3 separate regions of the Homo sapiens genome follow, and all the other regions are linked to region 3. Evidence: promoter capture Hi-C in human tissues and cell types (Jung and others, 2019). All regions are on one chromosome and are shown on one strand. The core of a region is centred on a gene start or on the middle of the fragment in contact, and the rest is flanking DNA. Distances in the headings are between cores, read along the strand shown. Region 1 overlaps KIF6 (kinesin family member 6). Region 2 overlaps KIF6 (kinesin family member 6). Region 3 holds the start of MOCS1 (molybdenum cofactor synthesis 1).

What was found. The method cuts DNA at HindIII sites, captures the fragments that hold promoters and counts their contacts. A contact is called where the count stands out against the background at its distance.
Region 1: a contact is called between a fragment that was not itself captured here and the fragment with the promoter of MOCS1 in region 3, in 1 of the 25 tissues and cell types used here (spleen).
Region 2: a fragment that was not itself captured here is called in contact with the fragment with the promoter of MOCS1 in region 3 in 2 of the 25 tissues and cell types used here (dorsolateral prefrontal cortex and pancreas).

Annotation. Positions count from the first base shown.
Region 1 is chr6:39,418,135-39,422,105 of GRCh38, forward strand. KIF6 (kinesin family member 6) reads right to left here. Exons shown (of 23, transcript NM_145027.6): 15 at 1,814-1,869. Among named protein-coding and RNA genes, the nearest start is that of KCNK16, 97 kb to the left of the region's middle. The HindIII fragment of the contact is 3,152 bases long and covers 368-3,519 here.
Region 2 is chr6:39,396,408-39,400,090 of GRCh38, forward strand. All of the region lies in intron 15 of KIF6 (kinesin family member 6), which reads right to left. Among named protein-coding and RNA genes, the nearest start is that of KCNK16, 76 kb to the left of the region's middle. The HindIII fragment of the contact is 3,972 bases long and covers 1-3,683 here.
Region 3 is chr6:39,932,401-39,936,285 of GRCh38, forward strand. MOCS1 (molybdenum cofactor synthesis 1) reads right to left here and starts at 2,062. Exons shown (of 11, transcript NM_001358530.2): 1 at 1,895-2,062. The coding sequence starts at 2,017. LOC102723789 (a long non-coding RNA gene) reads left to right here and starts at 2,169. Exons shown (of 6, transcript XR_001744112.1): 1 at 2,169-2,243. The HindIII fragment of the contact is 11,059 bases long and covers 1-3,885 here.

The DNA of each region.
Region 1 (3,971 bases), core at 694-3,193, 510 kb before region 3:
ACTGGGCCCTCTGAGAATCAGATGAGCTATGGATGGACATAATCTTCAGAAAAATACAAACATTCCTAACTCCCAGTTTTTCTCATGCAGTTTTAGGATGTTCAGGAATCCAGGTCAAGAAAGGGGTTTGAAATCTTTTTTTGTGCCAGCGATCTTCTGGCAGTCTGATGACCTTACGGACCCCTTCTCAGGATAATAATTTGGTGCATAAATTAAAATACGCAGGCTTTTAAGATAAACCAATTATATTGAAATAGTTATCAAAATTGTAAAACCTTTTGTGATACAGAAATATCTATGTACTTTTATATAAATGTATTAAATAAAAAGATCTAATGGTGAGTCTAATAACCACTGTAATTTTGTACTGATAGCACAAAAGATATTTTACAACGTCTGCCCCTCTGTGATATGACATGCAGGCCTCTGTGACTTCCACTGGGTTCATCATTGAGGTGGTGCTAAGTTTCAGTTAGAGGTTAGTAGAAATACAGGGGCATTTCTCTCCTATCAAGATCCTGGACCTTAGGTCAAGAACTCCTGAGACACAAGGATTCTGAGTGTGGCTGTTGGCTGTGTCTCTGGGTCTGGCTGCCTCAGCCCCTTCTGTCTCAGGCCACAGAGGGGACTGTGGGGCTCCTGTTTACCGACCGAGACAAACTGAGGCTATCGTGATTTTTATATTCTGTTAGAAAAATTAAAGGGGGCACTCACAGTGGCTTCTGTCCTGTCCTCACTTGTAGGCGGAGAAAAGGGGGTAGTAAGAGAGACCCAGCGGGCCAGCTGTGAGCCAGTAACTGCTGCCTTCTCCAGCACAGAGGTGAGGCACAGGGATCGCCTCTGTGAAGCTGCCCTGGGCCTGGGAGATGGGTCTCTGTGGTATCTTTTAGTTTGGGATGAAAAAAACATTGTCCTCTTACTTTTAAAAGGATTTGAGGCTGGGTGTGGTGGCTCACCACCTGTAGTCCCAGCACTTTGGGAGGCCGAGGTGGGTGGATCACTTGAGGTCAGGAGTTCGAGACCAGCCTAGCCAACGTGGTGAAACCCCATCTCTACTAAAATCACAAAAATTAGCTGGGTGTGATGGCATGCACCCATAGTCCCAGTCACATGGGAAGCTGAGGCAGGAGAATCACTTGAACCTGGGAGGTGGAGGTTGCAGTGAGCTGAGATCACGCCACTGCACTCCAGCCTGGGCAACAGAGTGAGACTCTGTCTCAAAAAAAAAAAAAAAAAAAAAAGAGAATTCGAGGCACATTTTACTGAGTTGCCTCTTGCCTTAACTTCACCTTTGCAGGGGTACTCACCTAAGTGGGGAGCCCTCCGTGGCAGCCTCCACCTTGGGAAGGCACGATGGCTTGTTTTTGCTTCTTATCCTTCCACCAGCTTATTGACTGATGCTAAAATATCATACCTGTGCCAAATATGCTAAGCAGAAGCTTTGGGAGGTGTAAGAGTGTTTCCCCATACTTGAAATACGAAATGACGTCTCACTGTAACCGTGAAGTTATGATTAGCTGAGCTACTGCTGAAAAACACCAGGGAAAAGCACAACTCTCTGATTGGGATGCTGGAGCTCAGGTCTGCCTGAGGATGAAAAGTTCAAGTTCTAGACAAAAGAAAGTGCTTTTCCTGCTGGGTGGTGGGAGGGATCACACACTTCCTAGGGAAGGCTCTCAAAGCAGCTTCCTTGGCAGGGGCTCTCCTGAAACTGGCCATTTGGGGCTTCATGGCCATTTGGAGGCACATCATGACCTGATTTTCACCAGGAAAATGGTTTCTGAAAGAGGCTCACAGAATATCATCTGCTTACCAATTTTACTTCTTGCTTCATTTATACTTTCTCCCAGGGCCTTGGCTTCAGAAAATCTGGAGGGGAAAAAAATGAAAATTGTAGTTTTTCTGTTCATCCTACAAGATGTTTTAAAAATAATAGATTTCTTAGAGGTCACTAAAATATGATGAAACTTTATTGAAAGACACAAAAGAAAAATCTAAATAAGTAAAATATATTAGGCTTAAAAATAGAGAGAAAATTGGTATTAATTATAGGTATTGTTAATTTTTACTCTATCCAGCACAGAATTTGTATTCTCATAGTCTCTCATTTATGACTTTTAATTTATATTATTTCATGATGCAAAGATATCAGAATAAAGCCTGGCTGTAAGGTTTCTGTGCTGTGTTCTATTGATTATGATACCAAGATCTTATAACCAAAGAATATATACTTACATAACTTTTTTCTGATTATAAAATAATATATCAGAGGTTGTAAAACTATGGCTGGTTATGAGACAAATCTGGCCTGCTGCCTGTTTCTGTAAATAAAGTTGCCCTGGAACACCGCCACTCCTATTCACTGACGCATTTTCTGTGGCTGCTTTCACGCTACAAGACAGAGTCGACTAGATGTGACAGAGACTGCGTGGCCTACAGGGCTGAAAATATTTTCTACCTCACCCTTTATAGAAGAAGTTTGCTGATTCCTGTTATATACCGTTATTAAGCCAGATTTTGAAAATACAAAAACAAGAAAAAAATTCTCAAGTACTCCTCTACCCAGAAATAAGCACATTGGATACACGTATCCACCCCGTCTTTTATAGAGCCAGTTTTTATAGGGTTGGGATCATAATACAGATATGATTTTGTGCCCCGATGTTTTTTTTTCACTTAGCATTGTAACATAAGTCCTTCCCTGTATTATGAGATGCATACCTTTGATGGCTTCATGCTAGTCTACTAGATTGCTGTGCTAATGTTTAGTGAGTGATTCCTTTATGTTTCTGGCCTATGTTTGAGACACCCACGATGAGCCAACTTTGCGCTAGAGAAGCAGACAGGACATGGCCTATGTGAGAACATGTAGTTCAGTCCCTATACATAGTGGGCCCTCATGAAATGTTAGTTGCTTTCCCTCCTCTCCTTTCTGCCATGAAGTTAAAGAGACAATTGAAAGCCTATGAAAGCAAGCACCTAATAGATAGCTGAATTAAATGGCTGTACCTTGGCGGGGCTAGTCATGCCATTAGCGTTTGACTAGGGAGTGGCCTGTCCACGAGTGAGCGGAGAGCTGTCAGGAAAGCTTCATGTACAAGGTGGGAGTGACCTGGGTTTTGTGGATCCACAGGAGTTTTTAGAAAATGTTTTATTATGAAAATTTCCAAATATACACAGGATAGTAGAATGAACCCTAACATACCCAGTATCACATTTTATTAATTGTCCAGTTTTATTTCAACTATTTCCCCTCCTCCTCCGCACTCTTCTCTTCTCACTTCCCCATCTCTAATATCCCGGCAAATCCCAGATATCCTATTGTTTCATCCTTGAACACTTTAGTTGACTGGGATTGTGTTGGAGGAAGTGAGCAGAGGAGGGCATTCCAGGCAGGGGAACAACAAAAGCAAAGGCCAGAGTGCCACGACTGCTCTGTGTTGGATGGAAAAGAAGTGTGAATTATGTCATTGCTATTTTCCAAATCTGTCTGCTTGGCCTGGGACTGTGGACAGGAGGTTTCCAGGGAAGGGGACTAAAGTTTTTCTCAATGTTAGTTTCTTGGGACTCCGCCCCTGGCTCCCTTATTAAGGCTGTTCAGGCTCATCGTAGATTATGTATGTTCTCTCCTCAGCGACGGCCTGTCACCTTCCAGGGAGAAGTACAGTTCCACTTGATGCAATTCAGACATTTACATGATGCACAGGTCACTGTGCTGGGCTCTGTGGGCTCATATGGCCTCTGCTGCTGGGCAGGCATAAGGCGACATTTGCTGCAGGCCATTTGGAAGATGAGGACCATCTTCAACTCTCCATTCTGCCAAGGGAGGGCCTATGATCATTTCATCACTGCTCTGTCCATCCCTAGTACCTAGGATTCATAGGATCTGACAGTCACACGTTGCTCAACGAGTGACTCCTCCCATTTCCTGTTCCATAGGCTTCTGGAAGCTTTAGACTCTTCGGAATAAG
Region 2 (3,683 bases), core at 601-3,100, 540 kb before region 3:
GGGGGCCGAGCCCAGCAGGTGCACTGGGAAACTGTGGTGGAGTGGGGAGCCAGAGAAAGGTGGCTAGCCTTCAGAGACAACTGAACAGCAGTGAAGGCCCGTCAGAGGAGAGGGAGTGGAAAACGGCAGGAGAAGTTGCAGAGGGAATCCTGGGCCTACAATAATGGAAAGAGCATGGGTTCTGGGAGCAGGTAGACTGGCACTGCCACCTCCTACTGTGACCCTAGGCTACTTAATCCCTTTGAGCCTCAATTTCTTCATTAAAATAGGGTGATAACACCAACCTTGCAAGGTTGCTGCAAGAATTAGACCCAAGGTACATAAAGCCCCCAGCACAGTGCCTGGCACATTGTAGGTGCACAATGAGTGGTGGTCATCATGGTGGTGGTAGTAATAAAAAGTAATGATTATGAGGTGGGTGGCTCTGATTACAAATAACACTGCATGGAGGATTGAAGCAAGCTAACCTATTGCAATTGTTTCTAAGGTCTTGATCACATTCAAATATGGCAGGACATCTGTATTTTCCCCTGTTCCCTTTTAGAAAAGCATCTTTCAGGCCTAAATTAACAAGTTATCGTGGGCCCAGCAGACTTTGCTGAAGTGCCTCTCTCCGCCTCGGTGGGGAGGAAGGGGGGACAGTCACATGTCCTTGCAATTGTCCAAATCAGGGTTTCACAAAGCAGAGCTGTGACCTTTCAGCACTCGCTGACTCCAACTTTTTACAAATTTAGTTTATCTTTACTAAACCTTCTCCCTTCTGATCAGTTATTTACCCTCAAATTCACCATCACTTTAGTTAGTAATGGGGTCTTCCATATTCCGTTATAGTCAAATATGATTGATTTCTGTAATTGGAAGTAAATGACTTTTTAAAAAGCTTGCTTGAAATGCTGGTGGTAATGGTTCTGTTTTCAGAGCCTGGGATGATTTCTATCCCCATCCCGTTATTTTACTTTATTTTATTCCAGAAAAATAACACCAGAGCTCTTTCTCCTTTTGTTTCCTCTGAGGCTAAATATTTTCAAAGAGGAAAGAGGAAGGAGAGAGGTGGAGATGGACATCCCACCATTTTACAGACGGTGCTTTTCAGGAGTGACATATTTCAGGAAGAACATCGTTTCCCCCTCCCTGAACTTGAGTTCTGCCTGCCTGAAATTCCAGTACGCATGGCTCTGTTTCTTACCGATCTCAGTCCTGGTGGATATAAGCTGGTCATTTTGGGGATAATGCATAATAAGGAAATCTAGGGAGTTAGGACTAGAAAAAAGAGGCAAAGCAGACAACATAACCAAATGAGAGGTTTTTGCAGTGAAGCTTTGGGAGATGAGGGAAGCTGCAGTACACATGGCCCGAGAACTACACTTCTTCAGCCAACAAAATGAGTGAGCAGGGGGAGCGGGAAATCAGAAGGTGTGTAAGAAGGGCTGATGGCACGATTTTGGGTGCTGTGTCTCTGGGGAGTCAACAATTCCAAGGGCTAATATCAGGAAGGCAGTGAATACCCAGAGAGAAGAAAAACAGAGATGGAGAGGGAATTGCCACAATATGCAAAGATAAAAATAATTTACAAGCTTCAGGTTGAATCTTTAGGGGAGAGAGATCCTGAAAAATTTTCTGCGTCCAAGGGATAGTAAATGGAGGCTAAATATACAGAGCCCATTATGATGAATGAAATGTTATTATGATTCTTTAGTGTATTGGTTTTAATGTTTTGTTTTGGTGAATATAAAAATATTTGTAGGGACTTTTATAGGTTTACTTGTAAACTTAATCTTGCTTTTCACATAAAGGCGTAATCCTTAATTATGGCTTTTTCTATCACAGGGATGTTCAGTTCCTTCGTGGCTAGGGACAGGTGGATAACTGTTTCCTATAATGTGGGAGATGTGATAATGTACATCCCAGAGCACAGCACTTGTTTCTAATCCTCATCGAAGCAGAAGTTGATTTCATTTCAGCTAATGGAGCATATTGATCATCAGCTGCTCCAGGGTCTAACAGGTGCCAGGAGGAGACCAAACCTTCACATTCTTTGAACTTGGGAAGGTAAAATTTCCAGAATAAGGAGCAGCCTTTGCCTTCTATGAGAAAGTCTGGATATTATCTTTGAGAAAAACATGGCTCTGTTGGAGACAAGCTAATCATTTTAATGGGGCATTTGAGGTTTGTACATGTAAGGTAAAGATACACCATTATTTTGGGGGAAGCTCTAAAAATGAAATAACCCAAATGCAGGTAGGTGCTTCTAAGTAAGAGTTAGATGTTCTATTTAGTATTCTGTCTTCAGAAACACAGATCGGGTGCTTCTTTAGCAGAACTATAGGTTTGCAGAGCTAGAGATTAAAAAATATCTTCATACAGTTTATCTATGCCTAAAAAGTAATGCTTGTACTTTGGATGTTGTGATGGTTAGTTTTATATGTCAAAGCGTATAGGCTACAGTGCTCAGATGTTTGCTTAAACACTAGTCTAGAGGTTGCTTTTAGATGTGGTTAATGTTTAAATCAGTAGCCTTCAAGAAAAATAGATTACCATCCATAATGGGAGTGGGCCTCACCCAGTCAGTTAAAGGCCTTAAGAGAAAAAAGACTGAAGTCCTCCAGAGCAGAATGAATTGTGCCTCCAGACTGCCTTTGGACTTGACCTGCAACATCAACTCTTCTTTGGCTCTCCAGCTTATAGGCTTGCCCTGTTCGAGTTGAACTTGCCAGCCCCTACAATCTCATGAGCCAATGCCTCAAAATAAATCTCTCTCTCTCTGTATCTATGCACATCCTTTTGGCTCTGTTTTTCTGGAGAACCCTGACTAATACAGATGATGTGGATGTGTCCTTGTCCAAGCACCTGCTGTAGCTCTTTGGGAACAGTGGGCAGTCAACGGTGGGATGAATATGTAGGTCTGATCTTGTCCCCACCTCACATGTGAATGGAGACTTTCATCCAGGTACTCAATAGTGGTCACAACAATGAGGGAAAGACACTTTTGTACTGAGTGAGCTGAGCCGGGTCCTGCGACTAAAGAACCGCCTGTCTCATCAGGCCAATGGCACCCCCATTGAGAAACGCTGCTTTTGAGGAAAGATGGAACAAGTTGTTGGTCACTGGGGGGAGTCCCACCTTGACTGATGACATGCTTGTGTCATTGAAGACTGAATGGCCCAGAGTTTTGGAAAACAAACTGCTATAAACTATCTTGTGAGAGCTATGGGTCCAGGCAGTGCTCTGGAGAAAGTGAACATACAAATAGGCTGTTGGGCCCTGTGTCCACTGCAGGTTTTTCTTGGAGCAGGCCTGCCTGAGGGTGTGTGGAAGCCTCCATGAATGAGGCTGGAAGCCTATGGGTCAAAGCCCTCCAAGAAACCAGAAGGAGCTTTCAGCTGCTCTCCAAGAAGCATTTCTTTTAAGCTTAAGCCTCCAACAGTACCTTGTTCAAGTTTGCCTCACCTAGTCAGATGCCATCGCCAGGGCCACAGGGTCTTTGAGGCTTGGTAGCAGCCACCAGCAATGGCACCATTAGAGGATAGCGTGCCCAGCAGGCAGCAGCCCCTATAGCACGAGAGCAGATAAGGAAGACAGAGGGGAAGGGCCTCAGGCAGGCGCTCCAGAGCAGTGCTTGGAGGCAGTGCTTGAAGAGACTTCTGGGTACAGTCTGGGGACTTGCTTTGATGGGAGTGGATTAA
Region 3 (3,885 bases), core at 812-3,311:
AGTGACAGCCCCAGGAGCCAGGTGAAATTGGAGGCGAAACTGGCGGGTGAAAACATGGGACTCCCTGTCCAGTGTGGTCTACTATGCCACGTGACTCCTCACTAGTTAAGTTTCAAGCAGCTACAATTATTGGCTGAATCCACTGCCTGCACAACCCTGCGTTAAGCGCTTGTGGGGATAGAAAGGCGGAGGTGCACCCAGCCCTCAGGAACTCCCAGTCTGCTGAAGATAATCCTAATGAGATGTCCAGGATTCAATGTGAGTTGACAGAATAGCTATCCAACAAGTCCAGATGGGAGGGGACTCACAGGACAGAGCATGTGCCAGTGGCAGCATGGATAATAGTAATTACCACCAACATTTACATAACACAGCACTTACATGGGCTAAGCTTTGTTCTAAGTATATACGTTAACATACGTTAACTCTTTTAATCCCTGTGACATCCTATGAAGTAGACACTTTTATTCTTACTTTGCAGATGAGAAAACAGACACTGAGAGGTAAGGGGACTTGGTGAATCCCTAATAAGGGATGGGGCTGCCCCAGAGTCTATGTTCTCCTTTCTGCCACATTACCCCTCCCTTCACAGTGTAAAGGGATGGATAGGAGCAGGCTCTCTCCCTGGCCTCCACACAGGGAGGACGGAAAAGCATTAGAGTTGAGTTCCTGCCCTCTACAGCTCTGCGACTGGAGGAAAGTTAACTTAGATTAGCCCCCTCATCTGAACATACAAACTCTACTCACCTCACATGGCTTAGTGAGGACTAAATGCTTCCACATGTGAGTCACTCAACACAGGTTCTCTCATGAAAGACCAGTACAAAATAAACTAGGGGGTGGGGGGCTGGAGAAGAAAAGTCCCTTTTCTTGAATTCTTTAAAGATCTCTCAGCCATCTTTGCTTTCCTATCTCTTCCTCAATGATGTTCAGAGTTTGAGGATACTAAAAAGTCTTCACTTCCCAACCATGGGCCTGCTTATCTGAGGATCCCAGAGGGGCTTAGATTTGGGGAAAGCAAATTTGGCGGAAGTCATTGAGCAATATAGGGGAGGAGGGAGCAGTGATCTTATGAATCCCAGGACAGGAAGCCTAGTTCTGGGAGACGGGGAAAAAAACGCCTAGATAGGTACCGAAAAGAGGTTTCACTAAATGAAAAGAGGTACTTTTCCCCCCAAATTATTCCCTAACCACCTGAGCAGAAGAACAACCAAAACCTAAAACTTTTAATGACTTGAAACACTCTGAGGGGTGCTGGCAAGGACTGAGGGATCTTACCCAAAACCCTAAAGACAGAGGAATTAATTTCTCACCTGGAAGAAGCCACGTCCTGCCCTGTTCTGCTCTAGGATAAGGCTGAACCCTCCCAAGGTTAATAAAAAAGACAAGGAGAGTCAGCAAAGGATGGGTTACAGAGCCCTGGGACTACAGTAACAACTCATCGTTGGTGACACCGAGGTGACATGTTTAGTCAGTCGCACTATGAAGCAGGTGTCACAGGGACACCTGATCTCTCAGCTCTTGGGATAGGGAGGGAAAATGTTTAAGAAAGAGGGTGGGTGCAAGGCAAGGCTGAAAGGTACTAAGACACCTCACTGGACCCAAAGTCCCAGTCCTCTGCTTACCCGAATTTCTGGCCAAGCTCAGGGCTAGAAGGGGTGGCGTGGCTGGGGGGCAGGGAGGTTCTGAAGCGGGACTCCCAGGAACCTCTCCCGCTGGGCTAGCGGGTGAGACCGGGCGGTCCATCTGGAGAACATCGCTCCACTGAGGAGTGCCAACGGGTCCCTCCCAGAAGCGGTCAAGCAGATAGGCCGGGAGCTACTGGGGGAAAAGGGCAGTGTGCCGGGGCCACTCCTGCCCCGGGAAGCTGTGGACGCAGGCGGGGTGGGCTCACCTCCGAGGCAGCTCGCGCGGACTCCCCGGGGCAGGGCTGGGTCACCGGAGCCCCTGAGCTGCAGCTCCGGGCGCTGGACCTCAGAAGCCGCCGCAGCATCCGGGACAGTGGCCGCGCCGCCATGAAGCCTGATACGAGCGGAACCGCAGCCCGCTTCGGGAGCACACTGGCCGGGCACTCGCCCCCGGGGTCATCCCAGCAAGGGCGGGGAGGGGCAGGGGGAGGGCGGGACCCGCGCAGCCAATAGGCGAGGACGCAGTCCCGCGTGGCCTTGTGGGAGCTGTAGTACGCTCCCTGTGCCCACTTTCCTGGGCCGGGGTAGCGCTCTAGGGCAGAAGGGTAAACTCAGGTAAGGAACGGGGTTCTTTTCCTTCCAGTTTTTCTGGCTGCTCTAGTCTCAGATTTAGGTCGTGGTGTGACAGTAGGCAGGACAGGACAAGGGCCAAACGAATGAGGCACTGCCTTGGATGCAAAATTTAAGAGGGTGCCAGGTAAACTGCGGTTATCAAAGTAAGTAATTTTTTAATGTAATATTTCAAAAAATCGTAATAAATTTTCAGAAGTCCGTGAAATATCAACATTCTAAATAAAAAGATTTAGCCTACACTTGCATGACTCACATCACTCAGTGCACCATAGTGCAGATTGTGGTTGTAAAACGGTCAGTTAGGTCTTTCAAGATACACTTCTCCAGTTGTGCCCCAAAAGGATATTAACAATCTTTTTTTTTTTTTTTTTTTTCGTGGAGAAGGCAAGAGTATATGAGAAGTCACAGAATGAGTGGACAACATTTTTGAAATGCTTCTTATACACCAAGCACCATGCTAAATGTTATTTAAAACAATCCTGGTATGAATAGAATGTCCTTTTTGCAACTGAGGACATTGAGGCTTAGAGAGACCAGGTAATTTTCTCGAAGTCACACAGCTGATAGTGGGTTTCAAACCCAGGGCAATCTGCTTTCTACAGTCATTCAGTCAAGATTCAGTATGTGTTAGGAATGGTGGGGTGTGCCTCTTCCTCTCTATAAAAAGCAGAGTGCTGTAGTCCTTTAAGATTTTGGATAACACACACAATAATGAGCTTATGTACTAAGAATAATTATGCTCAAACCAGCCTGTTGTATCCAAAACCCTGTCCCTGTGGAATTGCAAGAATAAAACACCGGCTGGAACATACAGCTGCCAAGTGCATGCTTAGGAAGTGGGAATATAGCTCCTGATCTTGAAGAATTGACCGAATAGTGGGAGAGGAAAAAATAACTGAATATAACTGACTTTTACAAGTGCAGTGGGACTGTCAGAAAAGCTGAGATGATTTTAGCCTTAGATTCAATGTGAATTTCTCACAATGATACTCAAAATTCAGAAAATATATTGTAGGGGATGAAAGTGTATCTGGGGTGTGTTTGAAACTGATGAGACAAGTATGCCAGAGGTCTGTTTGCAAGGGGCCTGAAGACCAACTGAGGACTGTTCAAGCTCTGTCCACTGCTAAGTTTAGATATGTCTGGATTTATCAGGAAAACTGGGTATGGGGGAGAGAAGGATAAAAACTTTTTTTTTTTTTGTATGTATGAGGCTTGAAGAGCCTTCTAGAGAGGACTCAACCTCAGGGAAGAAGCCATCTGACATATGAACTTGATCCAAGAATGTCACCAGCTCCTTGGAGCCTCTCTAGATTCCACCCTCTTCATACAAGTTGTATGTGATCATCCCTTCACTTGGGCTTTACTGTCATCTTTTATAGAACTTGGGTCTCCAAGGCAAGACCTAAGGCTTACTCAGTTCTGTTTGAAGGCTGAAATCCTCTCCATATTATCATACATCTACTTGGACTCCTGTAGTGCTGGGAAACTTTCTGGCTTCCTGATGTTGTCTGGTCCACTTAAATGTTTCCCCACCTATTAAAGTTCTTACTTGTATTCAGCAAAAAAGTGCCCCTTTCTGTCAACATATGGTGATTAAGTGTCATCAGGGCCGAATCCTCTG